Regions from separate parts of the Homo sapiens genome. Here region 1 is linked to region 2. Evidence: promoter capture Hi-C in 16 types of primary human blood cells and fetal thymus (Javierre and others, 2016). All regions are on one chromosome and are shown on one strand. The core of a region is centred on a gene start or on the middle of the fragment in contact, and the rest is flanking DNA. Distances in the headings are between cores, read along the strand shown. Region 1 has its middle 210 kb from the start of HDX. Region 2 holds the start of RPS6KA6 (ribosomal protein S6 kinase A6).

Region 1 (6,217 bases), core at 2,501-5,000, 520 kb before region 2:
CTATGCATGTGTATGTTTATTTTAGCACTATTCACAATAGCAAAGATGTGGTATCAACTTAAATGTCCATCAGAAGTAGAGTAGATAAAGAAAATGTGGTATATGTACATTATGAAAAACTACACAGTCAAAAAAGAATGAGATTATGTCCTTTGAAGCAACATGGATGAAGCTGGAGGCCATCATGCTTAGCAAACTAACAGGAACAGAAAACCAAATACCACATGTTCTCACTTATATGTGGGAGCTTAACAATAGGAACACGTGGACACAAAGAGAACAACAGACATTGAGGCCTATTTGAGGGTGAAGGGTGGGAGGAGGGAGAGAATCAAAAAACTACCTATCTGGTACTATGCTTATTACTTGGGTGAGGAAGTCTTCTGTACAGCAAACCCTCATGACATGCAGTTTACCTATATAACAAACCTACATATGTACCCTTGAACCTAAAAAAAAATTATAAAGTGTACATACTAAGAAGGTATCTGACTACTATTCCAAAATCATAGAAATAGCTATTCAATCATGACTTCTCTATCACTAGTTTTCATTATTTTAGAAGTCAAGACAAAAAGTAAGGGACAAGGAAAAACGCAAGCAAATTTTATTTAACTGGACACAATTTATGCTTAATCAAATAATATCTTCCTTCATAAATTGGTAATTAATATTCTTTTATGTGTTTGATTTATCAGGACACTTGGCCTCTTCAGGAACTATACAGATGTTTCTACTCTTTACAGAATAACCTACAGCAGCTGTGCATTTTAACACTCCATGGGGAAAAATATAACAGAAAATACAGTGAATATGGAATTCACACTGGTCATTTAGATTGCCATACTGCCTGAAGCTTTGGGGACTCTTGGCTATATTAAAGCTTTATGTCTGCCTTTTGGAACACAAAAATAAATATTTTCTTTAGCTAGAATAATTTCAAAGATGATATAAAGTACCAGAGACTGTAAGTACCAGAAAATTCCTAGTAACACCACTTTCCAGAAGTTGCACTTTTGAAATAAACTATTCTTTTTTCTAAACATTTAACTTCAGTTAACATCAAAAGAGAAACAATATTTATAAATTTATTAATTAAAACTCTATAAAATCTAATCTCTCTTTAGCTCTAAGACTATTTTCCTGAGAACTGGAATTCTGTGCAGTGCTAAGTTCTTATTGAGAGAGAAAATTGCTGTGAAACCTAAACTCAAATAAAGTTTTAAATAAATGTCTCCACCTAATGAATTTATAATAAAGTGTGCCCTTTTTCTAGGCAGTTGCTCATTTTTTTCTTCAAAGAACTGATTTACAGGTTCGCATTTTACATTAAACTGATTTTCAGTGAAGGCTGCAAAGCTCTGTCCAAAGGTTAATATCCTGATCTCTCCTTTGTATCTGCCATTTTACTGCATCTTATATAGTACTGTTAAGTTGTCATTTTGGGGTGGTGGGCTGTGTGTGTGTGTGTGTGTGTGTTGTTCTATAATCTTAACAAATTATTGCAGCCACTTAGATGAAATTCATTACACAGAACATTTCCTGATGAAGTGACATCAGAGCAATGACCACATGCCTATAATATACAGCTGCATTCTAACTATCCATTGTCTTGAAATAAATTGACTCATGGGGCATTTAGGCCTCAGAGCTCAATAGATGACAATAAGTGTACTCCAAGGTTCATGTGGAATGTAAAAATTTAAAAAAAAGCTTCTATTAATGCCCTATATTAGAATTTATAAAGAGTTTTTTCTCGTAATTTTTATTGGAAAAATGTATCTAACTAATGTTAATCTGTGATGCAATTCCATGCAAAGAAAGTTATACCATGCAATTTGCAAAATTTTAAGGAATTTAAGGCTTAAATAGGGAGATACAGGAGAGGGAAGGAGAAAATGGCAAGGAGCCATTTACCTTCTAAAGGAAATAAAGCTCACTACTTAGGGAACTTGAATCCTCAATGGTCCTCCTTTGTCTGTAAACTATCTCCATCATTGTACATTGTATATTTCCCTACAGGTTTGCTTTGAGAAAGCTTCAGAATAATAATGTTTGTCTGCGATTTAATGCCAAGTAAAGAAGCCAGATTATCTAGGTATTTTTAACAAGCACAAGTAAATACAGCCCAGTTTAAGAAAGAGTGGGTTAGTTTGAGGGGCTGGCAAACTACGCCCAATGGGCCAAATCCATTTCACCACCTATTTTTGTATGACCCAAGAGCATAGAATGTATTTTACATTTTTATTACTAAAATGTAAAAAAGCCTATTAGTCCACGAATGAGAACAGTTGCTTCAAGAATTGAGGACATTGCCTCTTGGCCTGCAAAGCCTACAATATTTACAATCTGGTCCTTTATGGAAAAAGTTTGCCAACCTCTGAACTAGACGAGCTCCAAAGCCTTTTGTGACTCAGAGTTCATGAATCTGTGCCTTTATGCAAGATAAAAAGCCCTCCTAGTACTTTAAGATGGCTTTTCAATGTAGATAAATAATTGGTCTGCATGAATTGCTGAGACTTTAGAGGCTTCTCTTTGTATTTTTAACATTATCAAAGTCAAAAGGTAGTTTTCCCCTATGGAAAATTGTGATTTAGCTGAAAAAGGAATTTGTAAGTTGCATAAAAAAAGATGCTCTGTGAATCTTCTCATTTGGACTGAAAACAATAATAATCCAATTAACCTGTAAATGCTACACATGGAGGAGCCTTTTCACATTAAAAGACATTGTGAATGCTGAGCCATCTAAGATGTTTTCCTCTTACACCTAAAAGCTGCTTTTAAGAGATGCCAAGAGAATGAGGGAACAACTTAAGGATGGATTCCCTGGTTCCAGAAGAGTAGAAATGTGTAGCTCACATCTAAAGAGAGGAGGCTACAAAGTCAGTCAATAATAAAAATCATTCCTGTTTCTTACCAACTAAAACTTTCCTTTTTGGGTTTACATGCTTTACCGAACAACTTGAACCCTGTAAGTTGGAGGACTGGACATGATGTAAATTAAACACTTCTTCATTTAATGTCATCATCACTCTTTATCAAAATCTCTTTTATTCATATATATTTTGTCAAACTGAACTATAATATATGGAAGATTAGTCCTACTTAAAATGACCAAAGATCTGAAAATGTAAGAAAGTATTTCTAGCTATACTCCAAAGAATAAATGCTATTATGATATTACTTTCTCTTAAACTTATTTATTTATTCCTTTTCCATATATACATATATGAATATGAATATATATGATTATTTCCTTACTTTTTTCTATTTACCTAGGTATCTATGGCCATATAGTCTTTTAAGCAAACAACCATTTGAACTAGTGATTCTCAGCGTGTCTATCAGTAATACAATGTTTTCAACCTTTCATAGTTAATGAGTCATATTACAGTATTAACAAAAATACTGGAAAGGACGCTTCAGAGAAAAATGAATGTTAATGAATTTATAGTTGCCAAATAGTCTACAAGCAAGGTTTATGTTCAATTATGGAACTTTTTTGTTGCATTCTTGATTAAAATGCAAAATCATGAATTGAAATCGACTCTTGCTTAATATATAAAACTTAAAGAGCTGTATCCTAATAAAAATTTTAATATGTGTGAAATCTATTAAAGTAAAAAGCATTAATTAAAAATTCATATCAAAGTGTTAGAGCATGTAGATAGCTAGATATGAACAGGAGGGGAAACTCCTAGTAGAAAAAAAGAAAAAATGTCTTGGAAGGCTCACGCCCGAGGGGGCACCCAAAATTTTCATATTAATAACATCTCTAATGCTGGAGTGGGTGGGCACTTAGTCAAATGTGAGTGAGAAGAAGAGGAGTTACCTACACAGAAAGAAACACCCAGGAATGCCTCTTAAGATGCCACTTAAGAGTTGGCATCTCTTAAAAGCAGCTTTTAGGTGTAAGAGGAAAACATCTTAGATGGCTCAGCATTCACAAGGTCTTTTAATGTGAAAAGGCTCCTCCATGTGTAGCATTTACAGGTTAATTGGATTATTATTGTTTTCAGTCCAAATGAGAAGATTCACAGAGCATCTTTTTTTATGCAACTTACAAATTCCTTTTTCAGTTAAATCACAATTTTCCATAGGGGAAAACTACCTTTTGACTTTGACAATGTTAAAAATACAAAGAGAAGCCTCTAAAGTCTCAGCATTTCATGCAGACCAATTATTTATCTACATTGAAAAGCCATCTTAAAGTACTAGGAGAGCTTTTTATCTTGCATAAAGGCACAGATTCACGAACTCTTAATAATCATTCACTCTCCAGTTAAAATGTCAGAATATTGTTAGCTACATGCTGATAAGGACAAAAGGGACATTCCTATGAGAAACCTGGCACCACAAGTACAGATTAGCACAGAGAAGGAAATTCCAAGTAGATATTCATTTGCAATAGGTATGGATTTGACCATTCTACAACCTTCCTGGGTTGGCAGTAATGAGCAGGGCCTCCATCAGGAAGGATTTGTGTTAATCACCTGCTCGTGCATGCTCATTAACCAACAGTAAGAGCGGCTCCCACAAGCCTGTGTAGAGACTACCCAGGCATGTAGGGACTTATGGCAGGCGTGTGAAAACTAGACAAAGGACAGAGGTGGGGACTTGAGACAGAGGAGGGAATTTGAAGAAATCTGACATGATAAAACTCCCTGCACGGGACCCTCAGCGCTGTTTTTTGCAGGATCAGCCTGCTCCTTCCTTGGAGTGTACTTAATTTTTCCTGCAATATGCTTTTCACACTATATTTCTTTTCAATAAAGTCCTCTGCTATCTTTGTGCTATCTGTTGGTTGAAATCTTTCTTCTAAGTTTAGAGAAGTACTGGGACATCAGCTCTCCTCAGTAATATTCCTTGGTGCTGAAACCCAGGACTTTGCCTAGTCCAAGCAGGGTTCTCTGAGGTAAGTGCCAGGAGAAATTTCAGACCCCCATTAGACTGCCTCTGCTTCTTCCTACGTAATCCAAAAATAAAATTTGAAGCCCTCCCCCTCCCCACCATCTGAATGAACTCCCTCCTCAGCCAAGGCACTCTAAATTTAACCTGAAAAACTGGTTCAGGCCATGATGGGAAGCGGGGTTGGACATGCCTCATTATGCCCTCCTCCCTTTTGGATTTCAAGAAAAGCTGACAAGCATTTAACATCAACACAGACCTTAAGTCTGATAAGAAGCATTTACAATCTATTGTTTTTGAAGTCAGCTACCTGTAGGCTTCATCTGCATGATAAAACTTTTGTCTCCACAGCCTCTTGTCATAACCCAGACATTCCTTTCCATTGATAATAACTCTTTCAACCAATTGCCAATCAGAAAAAAATTTTAAATTTGCCTATAACCTGGAAGCCCCCACTTCGAGTAGTCTTGGCTTTCTGGACCAAACTAATGCATATCTTAAATGTATTTGATTGATGTCTCATGACTCCCTAAAATGTATAAAACCAAGCTTCACCCTGACCAAGTGGGCATATGTTGTCAGGGTCTCATGAGGGCTGTGCCAGGGGCCATGGTAACTCATATTTTCCTCAGAATAAATCTCTTCAAATATTTTATAGAGTTTGACATTTTTTCCTCTTTACTATTCTAATTCTAACGCAATTCTTGCTACTTTAAAATGAGGCTTTCCTTCTCCTGCTCACTTTCAACTCCCCAGTACAATTCCCTTCAATTACAGTAACTTTTGCTCCCTCTGGCTGATTTTTCAGCTCACCCAGAAAGGTGGCAAGTGGAGGTGGGAGGACTTAAAGACCACATCATGCAGATCTAAGTTACCGTAATTCTCCCTGACAGGAGGCTTGACCTGTTGGCGGGGAATGGCCTAGGCCATGCAATGACTAGAGAATTCTATATATTTTAACTAAAACTACCATATTCCTTTGAGTTGGCTATTTTCCTTCCCTTTTACTCCATTTTATTTCCCAGACAAAATATGCCCCTGCAGGTAATCAATATCACAAATCAGTCCACCTACTCATTGCTGTCTCTTTGCCCATGGAGGGGCTTTCTTGAATACCTCCTCCACATGCAAACCCCTTGCAGGGCCTGCTCTTCTGGGTCATGCTGTGTTTACATTACTGCTGGGAGTTGAAATTCCCTATATGCCTCCTTTGAACTGTATATTTATTTTTTCCCCACGAATGCAGTTCACCTTCACCCTTTCTCTTACCTCCTTTCTCACTACTGGGGCCAAAACTGGCACGATCCTC
Region 2 (6,539 bases), core at 635-3,134:
TTTTGCTGACGGGAGAGATCCAGTAGAGAGAAAAAAATAGATGATGTTAGTGGGGGGGCGGGTTGCAGAACAAAGCCTTTGAGTAGGCAAGAAGGGATGGATGAGACCCAGCGCTCAAAAGGTTGGCAGTACCAGGCACAGCAGCTCAGGCCTGTAATCCCAGCACTTTGAGAGGCTGAGGTGGGCGGATCACAAGGTCAGGAGTTCGAGACCGGCCTGACCAACATGGTGAAACCCTGTCTCTACTAAAAATACAAAAATTAGCCGGGCGTGGTGGCGCACGCTTGTAATCCCAGCTACTCGGGAGGCTGAGTCAGAAGAATCGCTTGAACCCGGGAGGCAGAGGTTGCAGTGAGCCAAGATCGCGCCACTGCACTCCAGCCTGGGCAACAGAATGAGACTCTGTCTCAAAAAAAAAAAAAAAAAAAAGAAAAAGAAAAAAAGTTGGCCCTAGTTAATACTGTCAGTTCAGCCAAATATGAGTTTATGGGTGTGTGCGTGCACACACAGACACACACACTCTCACACATTTTCACGATTTATAGCCCCATGCACCCACTACTTTCGAAGCTTTGACTTTTAGAGAACCCTGTTCGTTAAGCTCACTTTCTCCTCGAGATTTTCAGCAGAGTAAGTGAGAGGACATTATCAGTTATCCTTGTTTGTAATTCAGTGCAATCTCTGTGGCCAGCTTTGCTTCATTAGCTCTTGAGACCAGATGATGAAATAAATGGAGGGCATAGGTCAACAGCCCTAGGTGTAGAAGGGTAAAGGGGGTGGTGTGCCTTTTATGAACGTTAGAAACCTCTCCAAGGTCCTGAGTTGGTTTAGCCGCTGTTACAGTTGCTCTTTTAAGTCTTTGAAGTGTCAAATGTGGAATAACTTTTAAACTTTCAGCTCTGAAGTGTTTTGATGAGAAGCATCTTGATTATCCCCCGTATAAGATTATACTTTATCTCTGTTATATCGCCAGCTCCCAGTACAATGTGTGGCTTAGAGTAGCGAAGTAGTAAAGCTCGCTTTGAAGAAGGTACTAAAAACTATGATTATTGTCACTACAGACCCAACATTCTCAGAGGGGGCTGGAGGATGGGCTAGCTTCGGAATCATGCCTTTGTTGCCACAAGTGGAGTTCATTAAGTGGCATATGTTTGCCTGTGTGTGTGCATGTGTGAAGAGAAACATTGTGTGTTATCAATAGTGTGAAGGCAACCAGCAGGAGCATCCTGAGAGGGACAAGTAAGGTGGGGGCTAGAGAGGACAGGTATATTTATTTTTTTAAATGGGGGTTATCCTGCCTTTACCTTCTAGGAGGATAATGTATGATGTACTAAAATCCCTGCCCTAGTATTTGTCACTAAGTATCGAAATGGGCGTGGTTTGGCATATAAGACACCTGCTCTTCGTGAGCCCTGCAAAGAGATACTCTTGGAGTCCTACCCTTACCCTGATTCCTCAAGTGCTCTGGAGGGTCCCCCAGTTCCAGCATCCTTTTTGAGAATCCTGCCGCCCGCCAGCAATGCTGCTCCGTGGACTTGAGAGGGCCTGCTGAGCATGTGTGAAGAGCGCTGCGCATGCTCCGTGGAGTGGGCAGGTTTACCGAGGCGCTAGCAGGGGCTTTTACTACTGTTCAGTCGCCTCCCCAGCCCAGCACGCCCCCCTCCCCTCTATCCCACCACCCACCACGCGGTCCCCCGCATCCACCCCGCCCCTCTATCCCGCCCCCTTCACCCCAAGCTGGGGAATCTCCATTGACGTTTGGGTGACGCCGCTGTGCCGCCGCCGTGGGGGGGTCCAGGCGCCGCACAGGTAACGCCGCCGCTGCCGCCATATTGACAGAGCAGGGAGCGGGGAGGGGACCCGAGGAAGTGGGGTGTTGGGGGAGTCACCACCGAGCGGCTGTCGTTGTGGTGGCAGTGGTGAGCGCGAGCCGAGCGGCAGCTCTTGGAGAGGCAGCACAGAGTTGTCTTCTCTATGGGAATCACCGGGCGGCGGCGGCGGCGACCCCCAGCTCCCAGCCTCTGAGAGACCCGGCGGCGAGGGCAGCGCTCGCTGAAGGCGGGGCTGGGGGTCGCGGCGGCGGCGGCGGCGGCGGCGGCGGCGGCGGGCCAGTTCAATAGACAGGATGCGCGGCCGCGCCAGCGGTAGGCGGCAGCTCCTGTTTGAGTGCTCCTGAAGGGGAGATGCTACCATTCGCTCCTCAGGACGAGCCCTGGGACCGAGAAATGGAAGTGTTCAGCGGCGGCGGCGCGAGCAGCGGCGAGGTTAGTGTGGTGGCCAAGACGGGCTGGAGCCAACCCCCGCCTCCTTCCCCTCAAGACCTTGGCTGGGGACGGAGAGAGGAGAGGCGTAGGGCCGGGAAGCGGGCTCCCGGGCAAGCCCCCTTGATGCTGCCTCCACTGCCCTTTCGCTGGGGAGCGGGCGGGGATGAGACGGCGGGCTCGGGCTTGCGGAGTGAGTGCAGCCTGGGCCCGGGCTCGGCCTTGGGCGGAGCGCCTGCCTGGCGGGCCACGCCAGAGTTGTTGTGACTAAGTTTCTTCACTTTCCGACCCGAAGGGGAACTGGGGGACTGGCGGGGTGCTGTGCCTGACTCCGCGCGTCCCTTTTTCTCCGCCGCGCCTAGTTTGCTGGCTGGGAACATTTTGGGGGACAGCTGCGGACTCCAGCTCGCTGTTGAACCCCGGACGCTTTACGAACCCAGTGCAACAAACACACCAAGGTGACTAAGTAACTCTGGGGACATTTGCACATAGGCACGAGTGTTCCCTGGTAACAGCTTTCTCGTTTCTCTGTGGCTTGTTATGGTTCCTTGTAATGACCCATGTCGAGATACACTGGCGACCTATCTCCAGTCGCCAGGTTTCAGGTGATGTTCTACTGCTTCCTCTCAGGTCCCCTTGATTCTACTGCACTCTTGCTCCACCCCTTCTCCTTTCCACAACCGCTGTCCCTGCCCCGTTGGTCTGTAAAAGAAGACGCAAAGTAAACCCCAGCCCTTATAAATAAGTCGAATCTTTGGTAAGACTTAGCGAGGTTCAACCAAAATACTTTGGTTCACCTCTCTTCCCACTCTTCTTACTCTGAAACTGTTCTGGTTGGGCTTTGGTCAGCTGTGCAGTGAGAACTTAGATGTACACAGGTGCTTTGTTTTTATTGTTGTTATAAAAGCGGGCAGCATTTAAACACAAAAACGTGTCTTTTGTGATAGAAAGTTGGATCCTTTTCTGATAACTTAATCGACTGCGTACTACTCCAGTAGAGGCCACCATACACCTCCTAAAAATAGTTGGTGAAATTGATTCACAGTAGGATATTTTGAGGTAAGACTCTCAATCCTCGACATCTAAAGGGTGCAACTTTGTCTTCAAGTACTTGCTCCATTTAAAAAAAATACACATTTGGCTGTTGTATGATTACCTTGTTTTTTTTTCTTTAAATTTTTTTGTTATTTATCAACTAAACTGGGGTTAAGATTACATGCTAGAATAACATGTGGTAAGGAATATAGTGGAAATAAATTCAGAAGTACCCTAAATCTGAACCCTCTATACTTACAGGAAATATTTTACTAGTAAACCAAGCAATTCCAATATACGTTTTAATATTTTACATCTCGTAAGAACAAGATAAATGAATAGGCGTTCCTTTCTTGTTGAAATGTGGGAATGCTAACTGTTTGCACAATTGTCTAGCAAGTCTATTGAAGGGGAGAGGAACTTTGTTATATTCATGTATGTAACTTACTGAACTTATAGGCATTTAGTTTATAAAAACAGTTAAATGCTTTGATATAAGGATGGGATGGGAGGTGGGAATCCTTTTGCATGCCTACTATTTTATTATTTCTGTTAACTTTGAATGTAGTATGTTTTAAATTGTAATTACCACATATGGTTTTTTTATTGTTTGCAGTATGTTTTAGGTATTGTAGAGATTTAACAATGGGTCTCTCTACCTCAGCAATTTGGAAAAATACTCGAGTGGAAATTGTTAATCCCTATGAAGTAAAACGAAAGGTGAAGGTAATGTGGTGAAGATAGTATTTCTGCCTTCTTTCTCTAAAACAGTTATGATTGGTTAGATTTAACCCTGCAAGTTACTTAATAAAAAATATTATAGGTGAAAACTAAATGCTACATTTGAACAGACCCACTTAGTACTTAGAAGAGTTTGTTTGTTTTTAATTATATTCTTTTGATAAGAAGTAAACAAGTTTACTTTTGATAATTTATATTTTAATTACAAATTTGTTGATGTTGGCTTTAAAAATGCTAATTTTGAGTACAAGCTCTACAACCCTCAATTGTGATAATTTTAGGACTAAGAGTGTTTTTGTTGTAGAATATATATTTTTAAAATGTGCTAGAATCCTTAAAGAAAATGTAGGTAAGAATCTGTTAACTTTAATGTCAAAAGAAATAATTTCCGTCCATTTCTGTGTGTGTTGAATCTGGTAAGATTAAAGATTATAGACACTACCATATATTTTGGAGTCTTTTTGTATCTTTTACCTGTCTTGCTTGCATGGACAGTTGTTAACCTTTGAATTATCATTCAGAAGTGTGTAAATTGGTTGTTTGAGACTCTTAACATGTTTTCCCACAGGAAAAACTTATTAAGGGTACTTATATTTTTAGATCAGTACATAATAGCGAGGTATAATGATGCCGAGCCTAACCACTGTTTGTAAAATTGTTCTGTGGTGAAATGTGTCAGGTTTCAACCAATAACTAGCTTGGTTCCAGTGAGAGGTAGAGAATGGGCCTGAAAAGGGGAAACCTGGAATCTTTTGGTTTCTGGGAAGAGAGTTCTTAGAAGAGGGGAAATAGGGTAAGCAAGAAACTGATTGTGAGAGCTCTTGCAGGGACTGTCTCAATGAGGTCTACTGGGAATAGGAACTTCAAAGGGCATCACCCCTCACGCAGTCACAATTTAAGCTTTTGACTGGATTCTGTCAGGATCAAGAAAGAGGTTTTACTTGAGATGGGATGGGTATTGGTCATTCCTGGGCAAGGATCATAAAGAACAACCTGTTTGACTAATGTGAACTTTTCATGATTTAATGCCATGCATGTTACAGTTTGTTCGCTTAGTTGTTTGTTTTTTGGTGAGGAACCAAGTGCTTCTTTATCAAGTTGATGATGTAATTTTCACATTTCATATCATAGTAAACGTGTAGTACTTTTATATTATTTCTTTAGCAATGCTGTTTTTATTTAAGCAAGTTAGTTTTTTTTTTTTTTTTTTTTTTTTGAGTCAGGGTCTTTCTATGTCATTGTACATTGTCCAGGCTGGCCTCGAACTCCTGGACTCAAACAATCCTCATGCCTCAGGTTCCCGAGTAGCTGGGACTACAGGTGCTCACAACCATGCCTGTCTAAACAAATTAGTTTTGAGAGTATGTAGTTTACTGATAAAACCAATTTGGGAAAAACTTCTAGTTTTAATTAATTTTCATGAGACCCTATAGTAATAGAGGAAAGAACAGCTTTGAAGGCAGGTAAATCTGGGTTCTTGTCCGAGCTCCATGCCATACTCATGATGTGACACAATCCACGTTACCTAACCTCTCTGAACCTCACTTTCTTTGTCTATAAGTTGGAGAAAAAACATCTTCAAGAGTTGTTATGTAAAGAAAATTCAGTGCTGGGTTTAATAAACTTAGCAAGATGTTTTGCACTTAGTCTCTAGTACACAATAGTTCCTTCTCTTTTCCCACAGTCATCATGCCTCTTCCCATGCCCCTAAAGTCTGAACTATTGTCATCTATGTTAAAATCCTGGGATTCAGATAACCATGGCCTTAGCCGCAGCCTTCCATTTCGTAAGCAGTTTTTCTTAAGACCCCTTCCTAAATTTGATCATTTCATCTAAGTATAGTGGTGCTCTCACTGTGAATGTTTGTAATCACAGATAGGGTGATCCAGAGATAAAATACAAAGTTATATTTAGAAACAGTGGAAGGATAAGAAGAGACAGATAATTTCATTTATTATATCTGGCTGATGAGGTGTTTCATTGAAATTTTTAATTTTTTAAAAAAATTCTGAACTCTTGTCATGGTAGGAATTGGTTCAATTCATGAAGCATTTATTGAGTACAAGGCAGTGCTGTACATAGTGCTGTAATGTGAAATGCCTAAAAATATACCACAGAGTCCCACCCTACCCCCACAGGTTTACATTCAGGTAGTAAGACAGGCATGTATGGAAATTGTTATTGTAAAAGGCACAAGATTATCAACAATGGGGTGGTGGTGGTGGTGGTGGGGGTGGTGGTGGTTTAGGAATGGATCTGGTAAGGCTTTGTGAAGGAGGTGGAATTTGAGCAGGGCATTAGAAAGTGATAATATTTTCACAGACAGATGAAAGGAGCATATTTCACGTGGATGGGCACAATATAAGAAAAGGCATGGAAATGTTCTGAAAGAAGGAAGAATCTGATACTGTTGTAAGTCTGTGATGTGGGAGAGGGGATATAGTGAGAGATAAGGAATGTATTAAAGGTAAGCTAGGCCCAGGTTGAATGGGACTTTTTAAG

Evidence for each region. The method cuts DNA at HindIII sites, captures the fragments that hold promoters and counts their contacts. A CHiCAGO score of 5 or more calls a contact.
Region 1: a contact is called between a fragment that was not itself captured here and the fragment with the promoter of RPS6KA6 in region 2, in 1 of 17 cell types (M1 macrophages). The highest score is 5.3, in M1 macrophages.

Annotation. Positions count from the first base shown.
Region 1 is chrX:84,709,054-84,715,270 of GRCh38, reverse strand. No RefSeq gene overlaps it. Among named protein-coding and RNA genes, the nearest start is that of HDX, 210 kb to the right of the region's middle. RefSeq lists an enhancer at 1,724-2,225. The HindIII fragment of the contact is 3,419 bases long and covers 2,041-5,459 here.
Region 2 is chrX:84,183,544-84,190,082 of GRCh38, reverse strand. It overlaps RPS6KA6 (ribosomal protein S6 kinase A6), which reads left to right and starts at 1,884. Exons shown (of 22, transcript NM_014496.5): 1 at 1,884-2,264. The coding sequence starts at 2,184. The HindIII fragment of the contact is 4,367 bases long and covers 573-4,939 here.